Regions from separate parts of the Homo sapiens genome. Here all the other regions are linked to region 1. Evidence: promoter capture Hi-C in human tissues and cell types (Jung and others, 2019). All regions are on one chromosome and are shown on one strand. Each heading gives the region's core, a stretch centred on a gene start or on the middle of the fragment in contact. The rest is flanking DNA. Distances are from core to core; before and after follow the strand shown.

Evidence for each region. The method cuts DNA at HindIII sites, captures the fragments that hold promoters and counts their contacts. A contact is called where the count stands out against the background at its distance.
Region 2: a fragment that was not itself captured here is called in contact with the fragment with the promoter of LRIT3 in region 1 in 1 of the 25 tissues and cell types used here (spleen).
Region 3: a fragment that was not itself captured here is called in contact with the fragment with the promoter of LRIT3 in region 1 in 3 of the 25 tissues and cell types used here (lymphoblastoid cells, mesenchymal stem cells and spleen).
Region 4: a fragment that was not itself captured here is called in contact with the fragment with the promoter of LRIT3 in region 1 in 1 of the 25 tissues and cell types used here (mesenchymal stem cells).

Annotation. Positions count from the first base shown.
Region 1 is chr4:109,846,807-109,849,442 of GRCh38, reverse strand. It overlaps LRIT3 (leucine rich repeat, Ig-like and transmembrane domains 3), which reads right to left and starts at 1,336. Exons shown (of 4, transcript NM_198506.5): 1 at 1,126-1,336. The coding sequence starts at 1,241. The HindIII fragment of the contact is 6,154 bases long and covers 626-2,636 here.
Region 2 is chr4:109,404,851-109,407,486 of GRCh38, reverse strand. No RefSeq gene overlaps it. Among named protein-coding and RNA genes, the nearest start is that of SEC24B, 28 kb to the left of the region's middle. The HindIII fragment of the contact is 5,184 bases long and covers 1-2,636 here.
Region 3 is chr4:109,423,529-109,426,164 of GRCh38, reverse strand. No RefSeq gene overlaps it. Among named protein-coding and RNA genes, the nearest start is that of SEC24B, 9.0 kb to the left of the region's middle. The HindIII fragment of the contact is 3,067 bases long and covers 1-2,636 here.
Region 4 is chr4:109,441,215-109,443,850 of GRCh38, reverse strand. The region is part of intron 1 of SEC24B (SEC24 homolog B, COPII component); the gene reads right to left. Among named protein-coding and RNA genes, the nearest start is that of SEC24B-AS1, 8.7 kb to the right of the region's middle. The HindIII fragment of the contact is 3,972 bases long and covers 1-2,636 here.

The DNA.
Region 1 (2,636 bases), core at 87-2,586:
CTAGATTATTTCTTGCCAGGCCTAATATTCTATAATTTTTATAAAATCCATCAATAATGGGGTCACCACAAAGAAGGAAACATTTCTGTGATAGTTTCTCAAAAGTACCCTGGCCTGATCCTTCACTGCTACACGTCCCTGGACAAGTAGGTCTTTAACTTGCTACATTCTCTTCATTGTCTTTAACCACCCAGTGAATATCTCAAAAAATACCAAGAATTGGTTAACTAAAGTTTATACAATAACAAGATAAGCTTTTCACAAATATGTCTTATTTATTATTATTTATTTGTTTAAAGTTATAAGACATAAATTGGGCAACTCTTTTAACAAATTATTTTATCTGAGACACCGTTTACTTCAACCAAGTCACAAATAACCTGATTTTGTTATTAAATAACCTCTCAAAAAAAAAATTCAAGTTCTACTGTGTTTAGCTAGCAAGAGTTCTGTTTTGCATTTAACATATCTAAAAGGCCTCATGCACAATATAAGTAAATAACTCTTCTCACTACACAAGTAGATGCTAAAGCAACCTAGAGATTGAATAACTTCTGTGAGATCCTGCAGTGTCTGAAACAGACAGTATCTTTTTCAATCTTCTTTATTTTGTAAATTCCATCAGCTTAAAATGAAAAATTCTAACTATTAACCTCTCTAACTTCACTCTTGAGATCTTTCTTTCTGCCATTCAATTGGCATGAATAGTTCTCAAAGGAAGTGGAGAGCCATGAAAGCAAAGGATCTGAGCATGTCACGCAGCTCCTGTTCAGCCTGCCCTCTTAGCCTTTCTATAATCAAGGGCTTAGCTGGCCATGCACCTTTAAATCGTTTGATCTCAAGCAACAATTTGTGAACATGAGCATAATAAAAATTTTGGAACATAGAATGTGTTTAGAAATTTCCAATACCTTGAGAGGCCTTTGAGAGTTAAACTGCTCAAAACGAAAACAGTGAAGGAGTAGGTGACCAGTGTTAAAACAATTAAGTTAAAGCTTATGGACACTAAACATTCTCTTCTGTGATTTCTGATCCCCAAACATTTGCTTTCAAAAGTAGGCTTTCTTGTTTGGGTCCTTTTTGTCAAAATAATGAGAACACTTAGTAACAAGCAGAGGAGCATACCTTGATCCTGAGCCGTCATTTCTGCCGTGATAATCACAGGTGCACTGTGAAGGACACAAACAGCCCACTCCTTCCAAAAAGCTAAGGACAATGCACAGACATGCAAAGAGATGCATTGCTCCTTTTAGAGGTTATTTAAACAAAAGGTAAAAACCGAATCCTAAGCATTCAGAACCTGGTATGCCTGGAATACAAACAGCCATTTAGTAACAGCAGATTACACGGGATTAGCTGAGATCTGTAGTTACTTAACCTTCAAGTGTATCTTGCAGGAGATCAATTGATCCAGCCTTTGAATACAGTTTCAGCAAAGTAACACATTCTAAGGAAAATGAAAATCAAACACATGACAAGCAATTTCAATAGTTACCCGTAACTAGATTTGCAAGAAAATGCCTATTAAATCCCTTTCTTCTGGATGTACTTGCCACTACACCTTAAAAATATACTTAATGTAAAATAATTCAGTCTTGGCAGATGCAAGAAAATTCTGTAGATTATTTACATGTTACAACATTATAAAATGTTTTGCATTTGGTTTTTGCCAGAATGTGTTACTAATTCAGTTTTACAAAATTTAGTTTTAAAAATAGAAGCACATGACATAAAAATGATTTAGAAAAGAGTTATCGATGTTGCCACATACTGGCTATCTCTAAAAGTAAAGTAAAACAAGTCAGTTACACAGATTTTATAGGGAAAATGCTTCAATCCACTACTGATGTGGCAGGACTAAGTTCTCCAATAAGAACGTGTTCTGAGACTCTTCCAGGTCATCTCAGTGTGTGGAAGGTTTATCCCAGCACATTTATTTTTAATGCAGGCAACTATCTCTGTTCAATAGTTTCCCAAGTTATCAGCATCAAAGCCATATTTGAAGATCAACTCTAATTCTTTCAGCTATATTAGGCTCTGTCAGAAAATAAAAATTAAATGTAATTAAATTTAAAAGTATCTCCACACTCATAGAGTGGAGAATCCACAGGGACAATCAAGGATTTAAGTAATAAATATACGTCATTTAACCTTCTTAGTGGCTGCTTCTAACCATCCTCTTTAACTAAAAACCTTTTTAAAAGAAAATTAATTCTATAAAAATAAGCATATTATAGAAAATGTTATTTAAAACCAATAGAATGTATATAAAAACCATACAGTCTGAAAAACTGTGCTCAATTAAAATAAAATACTGCAGGTTTTCAGATTCTGCACAACTCGTTTGTTCATCAAATATTTACTGAGTACTTATTCTCTGCTGAGCATTGAGGGGTACAAAGATAAATAAGACAGTTATTACACATAAGGAACTCACACGATAAAGGGAGGAACAGACTACTAAAGAAGCACGAGAAAAGAGCATCAAACCCAGCCTGTGTTAGTCAAGCAAGACTTCCTAGGGTGGGTGGTGCCTGGCTGCCTTTTACAGGGTGCATGACGATGTATTATGGGAAAATCCAGAAAGTTGCATTGCAAGCAAAGGGAATAGTGGGAACAAAGGGAGGGAAGTGAGA
Region 2 (2,636 bases), core at 48-2,547, 440 kb after region 1:
TCAACAAGTGATTGCATGATTGAACTCTGTAGAAGTGACTGTGTTTTTTATCTTTTGCAAATGACTCCCTTTGCTCCTTTTCGCCTTGCACCATTCTAAGTCCTGAATATTTCCAGTGAGTCTGATTCTATGAACAAACTGGCTGAAGCCCCTAAAGCATGGGGCTGTGGGTGAGTTGTCCCTTCTACACAATGCTTCCTCTCTGGGTTGTCAGTTTGTTTCTGTTCCAATCTAGCCAGGGAGTTGTATGCTGAGTCAGGGAGCATAAATTATTCTGGGACAAAAAGTGGTGTGACTATTAGAACAATGTTAAATACTGTATTATTGCATTTAGATGGCAGCTCTTTATGTTTCTCCATGAATGTGTAAAATCCTTGCTCACACCCTGATTTTAATTGATGTCTGACAAATCCAGACTTACTGTGGCAAAAAAAATGACAATGTTAATATTAGCATAATTTTTCTCTTTGCTAACTGGATTTACATATCAACTCCTGGGATAGCATACATTATTTTTTTCTTTGTGCCTTGATTTAATCACAACAGCAACAATTACCTCTATTAGGCCTCTTTCTATAGATATATAGGAATATGGATGAGGATGAATGGCTTACTCTGAGAATTATTATTACTAAAATCTAAGCATTGGCTTTGCTTCCCTTACAAAGTATACATTAGGAAATAATTAGTATTACATAGTAAATTTGAAGCACAGACTTATATGTATCTTCACACTTATTTTAAAATACTTCTCTTTTATCTTTTCACAATGACTGTGAGGCTGATTATTGTTCTTATATTAGGTGAAATCTGTAACTTCACATGTTGGCTCACCAGAGCAATATTAAGAGAGATAATCATCAGCAATATCCACACAAATTGCATTCCTTAAAGCAAACCAATTGCTTTGAAGGTAAGCGAAATGATTCTTCACGGAGAAGTACCAAAATGTCCACTATGTGGTGCTGCTGTACCTGAATTACACAAGGAGGGTAAAACAGTACACTGTACCCTGAATTACACAAAAGAAGGTAAAGAAGTACACTGTACCCTTAATTACACAAAAGAGGGTAAAGAAGCACAAAGTAATAATAATTTCACCCACAAATTCATTATCATCATTGTTCAAGCAATTGTTATTGGGAAGACAAAGAAGAAAATATGTGATACTGAAATTATTACTATATGATGTAAAAGAAGCTATTTTTTTTCAACTTTGTTTCATATATGGAGAGAAAATTATCTTAGGAGAGAAGCTAATAAGTCAATGTGGGTGTTAATTTTTTGGAAAAACAATCAGAAAGAATACATAAACGGAAATTTTAGGGCATGCAAAAATTATAAATAAAGTCTGTGTGCATCTATATATACATACACACACACACATACACATAGAGAGAGAGACTTTAGCCAATGCTATATTTTAACAATGTTGAAAAACTTTTGGCTAAAATAACAATTATTAATCTGGGAATTTCATAAAAATTTTTTAGCAATCAGAATTTTACCAAATATTTTTCAGAATTTTTTCTGTAGCAATCAGAATTCTGTAGCAAGCCAAGTCATAAAAGAAAAAGAAAACCTTAATTTTGATTTCGACTCAAAATTCAAGCCCTATTTATTTTACTTTCAGGCCTATGGAGTAGCAATAGTTGCCAAAATACTAAACATAAGCTGTAAATTTTATGGACCATGCTTTCATTTACTTTTTAGGATTGAGATGTTGGAAGCTTTAGAATGTTGATTATGATGATACCCAAGACTCAAGTTTAAGAAGGAAAGGAAGCAATAAGATCATGCCTGCTATTAGTATAGTCGTCACAGTTATTGTGTAAAGGTAATGTGAAACAATGCAGAATATTTATGTTTTAACAGTTTCCATTTTATGCGACCTGTGGGGAATGAGAGTTATCCAAACTATATAGGCTGTGCCCCTCTTCCCTCCGAAGCAGCGAAGCCCGCGATGAGAACATTACTGCTGCTCTGGTACTTCCCTCTTATGGAACAAATTTGCAAAGTCTGTGGCAGTGATTCATAGTTCAGGAAAGACACACCTTTCAGAAGCAAAGATGAAGAAAGAAGGATGTTATATGTTTAGTCTTTGCTATTTTTACTCTCTGGTTTTCAGTTAAATTGTGACTTACAATTATTTGGTTATGGTGACCCATTAATTCACCAAACAGAAGCCCTATTTGAGTCAAAGAATCCTGTTTCCAAGCTTAAAAGAAAATGAATCTGTATGTTCTTATACTTTCCCTGTAATATGTTCTGTCATTTTACTAATGCTGAAAGTCTATCCAATAGACCTGGACTCATCACAAATAAAAATTTAGAGTTTCACAGAAATGGGTAAAGAGCAATTAGTATTTTCATTAAGAACTAACAAATATAAAGATCAAATTAGGGTTTTTTTTTCTTGGCCCTTGTTTATAATATGCACTAAAAATTACTATTGTACTTAGGAAGTATTTTTAATATTGAAGTTGACCTAAATTGTACTGAAATACTTGAACCTTCTGGTTGGGTCATATGGTATGGACTGTGTGCCACATAAAAATGCCTTTTATGTATTAATTGTGCCTATATTTCTTTAGCATCTGCCTCTCTCATTGGACTATAGACACCACAAAGACTGT
Region 3 (2,636 bases), core at 74-2,573, 420 kb after region 1:
ATAAAACAAAGTAGAGAATGTTAGTCCCCGGAATTTCTCTGTAAGAAAATGTCTCATGCAAAAATCATTCAGGAGGAGAAAAATATACTTTGTAGGGGATGCTACATGCTTCTTGCCAAGAAGAGAGAGAGAAATGGGAGGCCATTAGCTGTCTTCTATGTATGGTTGGTGGGCAGGGGTACAAGAGAAGCTTCTCACTTTTACACCATGTGGGAAGAAGGTAGTGAACAGGGTAGAAAGAAAACTGTGAGATAACAACATGGAAGGATTGGGAGATTGAAAGAGGAGGAGAATTTTAGCAGCCGTCATAAGTAGGGAACTTTGGAGGGAGGAGAGATATAGAGAAGTATTGTTGGAAGCTTTACTTTCTATTTTTCTGGGAGAGACCCCTGTGTTACACCTTTACGGAAACTCATAATAAAAATCTCGATCGTTTATCAACATTAGTCTCATTATTTTTGAACGAGAATCCCCACAGAAATGATATCACATGACACTTGAGTTGTAAATTGTACAAACTGCATTCAGAAGCCATCACCAAGGCCTAGCTGTTCTTTTTCCTGAATCTAGACCATTTATGTCATATGAGTATCTACTTTCCAAAACTGAAAGCTCCTCACTTGGTCTTCCACAGAACTCCAGTGGAGCTCTAAATTGTATAGCTGAAAATGGGGCATATAATTCATACACTTTCACCATAATTCAGGGCAGGGAGGGAATGTCACTGGTTATGGTATCTGTTAGTTTTCCCTGTTAACTGACATTTGGAAAATATGTGCTCTGAGACACTCACACTTTGGGTTTAGATAACGTTTCTTCTCTCGGTGTCTGTGTTTCATGTTGTTGTTGTAATTGGCCAATAGCGCTGTAGTTGCTGCCAATATATAAGTTTGTTGCAGATACAAAATATGGACATTTTGATAGTTAATGTGCACACACACATAATACACAATAGGCATAGTCATAATTTTGTTACATGATCATTTGGCACAAATGATGAAACTGTGCACAAGTTACTATAATTAATGCCCTATACTTTCTTTTTCTTTCTTCTTTTTTTTTTTTTGAAACAGAGCTTTGCTTTTGTAGCCCAGGCTGGAGTGCAATGGCTCAATCTCAGCTCACTGCAACCTCCGTCTCCTAGGTTCAAGTGATTCTCCTGCCTCAGCCTCCGAAGTAGCTGGGATTACAAGCATGCACCATGCCCCGCTAATTTTGTATTTTTAGTAGTGTAGGGTCCAGCCCTACAGGGCCTGTGGGTTTTTCCTTAGTGTGCAGAGATGAGAGATTGTAGAAAAATAGACATGAGACAAAGAAATAGAAGGAAACACAGCTGGGCCCAGGGGACCACTACCACCAATGCGCGAAGCCTGGTAGTGACCCTGAATGCCTGGACACACTGCTATTTATTGTATGCAAGGCAAGGGGGCAGGGTAAGGAGTTTGAGTCATCTCAAATGATTAATAAGGTCAAGCAAGTCACGTGTCCACGTGACGGGGGGCCTTTCCCTTTGTGATAGCTGAAGCAGAGAGGGAGGACAGTATATGTCAGCATTTCTTCTGTGCACTTATCAGGAAGATCAAAGACTTTAGTACTTTCACTAATTTTGTTACTGCTATCTTTTAAGAACTTAAAAGGAGGTGCCAGGTGTACAGGCAGAACATGAAAGTGGACAAGGAGCATGACCACTGAAGCACAGCACCACAGATGTTTAAGCCTCCAGATGACTGCGGGCAGGCCTGGCTAATGTCAGGACTCCCACAAGAGTTGGTGGAGCAGTGTTCTCTAACTCCCCCCGGGGAAAGGGAGACTCGCTTTCCCGGTCTGCTAAGTAACGGGTGCCTTCCCAGGCACTGGCGCTACCGCTAGACCAAGGTCTGCCGAGTAACGGGTGCCTTCCCAGGCACTGGCCCTACCGCTAGACCAAGGTCTGCCAAGTAATGGGTGCTTTCCCAGGCACTGACCTTACCGCTAGACCAAGGAACCCTCAAGCGGCCCTTATCCGGGCGTGACAGAGGGCTCACACTCTTGTCCTTTGGTTACTTCTCACCATGTCCCTTCAGCTCCTGACTCTGTATGGCCTGGTGTTTTCTAGGTTATGATTATAAAACAGAGATTATTATAATACTAAAAGAGCAACACTACCAACTAAAGATTGATAATATTCATATATAATCATGTCTATATCTTATTTTTAGTATAACTTTTTGTATTCTAATTATTTTCTTTTATTATACTGGAACAGCTTGTGCCTTCAGTCTCTTGCCTCAGCACCTGGGTGGCTTTCCGCCCACAAGTAGAGATGGGGTTTCTGCATGTTGGTCAGGCTGGTCTCGAACTCCCGACCTCAGGTGATCCACCTGCCTCGGCCTCCCAAAGTGCTGAGATTATAGGCATGAGCCACCGTGCCCAGCCTGCTTACTTTCAAAATAAGGTAAAAGTCTGAGGAAAAAATAATAGTTCCCATTTCTGGAGCATTTAGGCTGTGCCAGGCATTGTTCTATGTATGTTCATGTATTATTTCCTCAAAAAAGTACACACTTTAATTCTGCAGATGAGAAATCTGAAACTCAAAGAGATTGAGAATCTTCTCCACACACATGATTATCCCAATAATCTGGTGAGTTGAATGAGAA
Region 4 (2,636 bases), core at 93-2,592, 410 kb after region 1:
TTACCTGACAATTCAAAATGTGTCCATCATTTTAGATATAGCTGAAGTTCTAACTTCCTCCCTTAAGATTCCCTATTACTTTAACCAAAAAGAATTGTTTCCTCTTCAAAACTCTGGGCACCCTTCTCACAGGCCTTATGAAGGAAACACATGTTCAGTGCTGACAGTCCTCTCCTCTTTTACTGAGGGGTACAGAACTCCTGGAGTGCAGAGAACATTCACATTTGTATGCCCAGAGTATCTAGCACAAAATGTTATGTAAAGAGGAGCTACATAAATATTTGCTAGGAATTGTAAATTAAATTTATAGGCCAGGCATGGTGGTTCATGCCTGTAATCCCAGCACTCTGGGAGGCAGAGGTTGGAGGGTCACTTGAGCCTAGGAGTTTGAGACCATCCCAGGCAACACAGTGAGATCTCGTCTCTAAAATAAAAGTTATATATAACTGTTAGGATTACATATGCATTGCATAAAATAAGGTTCAGGTGTTTAAGATCAAAATTGATGGTAAATGAGATAATCGGAGGGACAAAGTTCTTAAAAGAGAGGGAACAGAATTCTGTACCCAAATAATCTGAATTTGTCTCAGATAACACAAGAATAATATGCAGGAAGACTGACAGATTTGGTGGCAGAAGATTAATACTTTATCTTCAGATTGTCAGATTGCTTTCAATTTCTTAGTAAAATAAGTAAGGTCACCATTGGAAAGGGAGGCAGAGAGACAGGATACTGAGAATTTGAGGGAAAAGGGGAGCATGTGACACTGGGAATGGAGCAGGGAAATACCACAGGACTAACTGGTACTGAGAGCTCACTTAAGAGATATTACCATAAATATAAAGTTGGAGAAACTTCAAGGAAAATAAAGCATCAACATTGGATTATTCTAATATTACAATACAGCCATTTTATAGGGAAAAAAACATTTGACATAAAAAGGTTACCAAACCTAGTAAAAATGTGCAAAATTGATAAATGAGTAATATAAACATACAGGAAAACACAAAAATAAAGCAAGTTACCTGAATAAGATTGTAACAGTCATGATTTCCACCATACTACAATTATTGTTTAAAAAGAAAAAAATGAAGAGAGAAAACAAAAACCACATCTCTAATTTGACTACTCCTGAGATTTCCATAATAGCATGATCATTCCCCCTCCCTGAGACACATTTTAATATTAAAAATAGTTGTTTCATTAATATTTTCCTGAATTGAATTCCAACTTTTTTTTTCAGTCAGATCAAAGTCAGATTTCAGTTTCCATTATCTGAACACAAACATCAAGGTCAGCAAAGTACAAGTTCCTTTATCCTACTAAGATAAATTCATACTAACTTTGAGGTAGAATCAGATCGAAGAATGTAATCACTGAATTCATTCATCACTCAATTACAAAGAAATAGGCCAATATTCAGTCAGTATGCACCCAGGTATTCATTTTAACAATTATCTTTGTTAAAATGTTAAAATAGCTCTGAATCAGTTGGTAATGAGTCATAGCCATGGTCCTATTCCCCTGCTTTACCCCACCATGCTAGCCCAAACCTTCTCATAATCCGCAGCTGAAGGAGTAATGCCTGGCACAGCTGAAAGCTTATAGGATCCTGCTCTGGTATGAAGGATGGTATCCATTTAGTGGTCAGTATACACAGTACTGATTACTGAATATTTTAATATACTCTCCCTGCCAATAAGGTATCACTAACAATGCCAAAATACAGATTTTTAATGGGCATAAAAAATGTGCATGCTTGCACACCCACACACCCCTAAGGCAATAGGCAATTACAAACCTTGGTGATTTCAAAAATGAGGAGTCTCAGATTACATCTGGATATCCTAGGTTATCATAATGCAAGGATAACAGTTATAGAGCTTCTTCCCAAGCTCTGAGAGAAATGTTTTCTTGTATTCTTTCTCTCCTACATTCCATAAACTGCAAATATACCTGAGGATGAAGGTAACTGTTCCAGTCACCGCTGGCGGACAGAGCCTACAGACACAGGCTATGTAAACAACTGGATTAAATCTCACTGCATTAAGTATAGATTATTCCTGCTACAACATCAATTATCCTTCTTGGATACCACGACAATGAGTGCTATGAGTGAGGGGCCAAAAGACAACCAAGGCCACACATGGTGGCTCACGCTGTAATCCCAGCACTCTGGGAGGCCAAGGTAGGAGAATCACTTGAGCCTGGGCAACATGGTGAAACCCCATCTCTACAAAAAATACAAAAATTAGCTGGGCATAGTGGCATGCCCCTGTAGTCCTAGCTACTCAGGAGGCTGAAGTGGGAGAATCACCTTAACCCGGGGAGGTCAAGACTGCAGTGAGCTGTGATCATATCACTGCACTCCAGCCTGGGTGACAAAGTGAGGCCCTGTCTCAAAATACAGAAAGAAAAGAAAATCAATATTGGTTCAGAATCTACTACATGCCAGATACCTTGCTTTTCTACATATAATCTGATATGCTTCTCAAACAATTCTGTGAAGTATCACTATCATCTTTTATATACAAATAAACAGGGCCATGAAAGCCCACTAATTCATACGAATTCAAATCGTTGGTAAGGAGCAAAGAAGCCAGGCATTGCTGGTTCCAAAGCCAGGCTTATACCT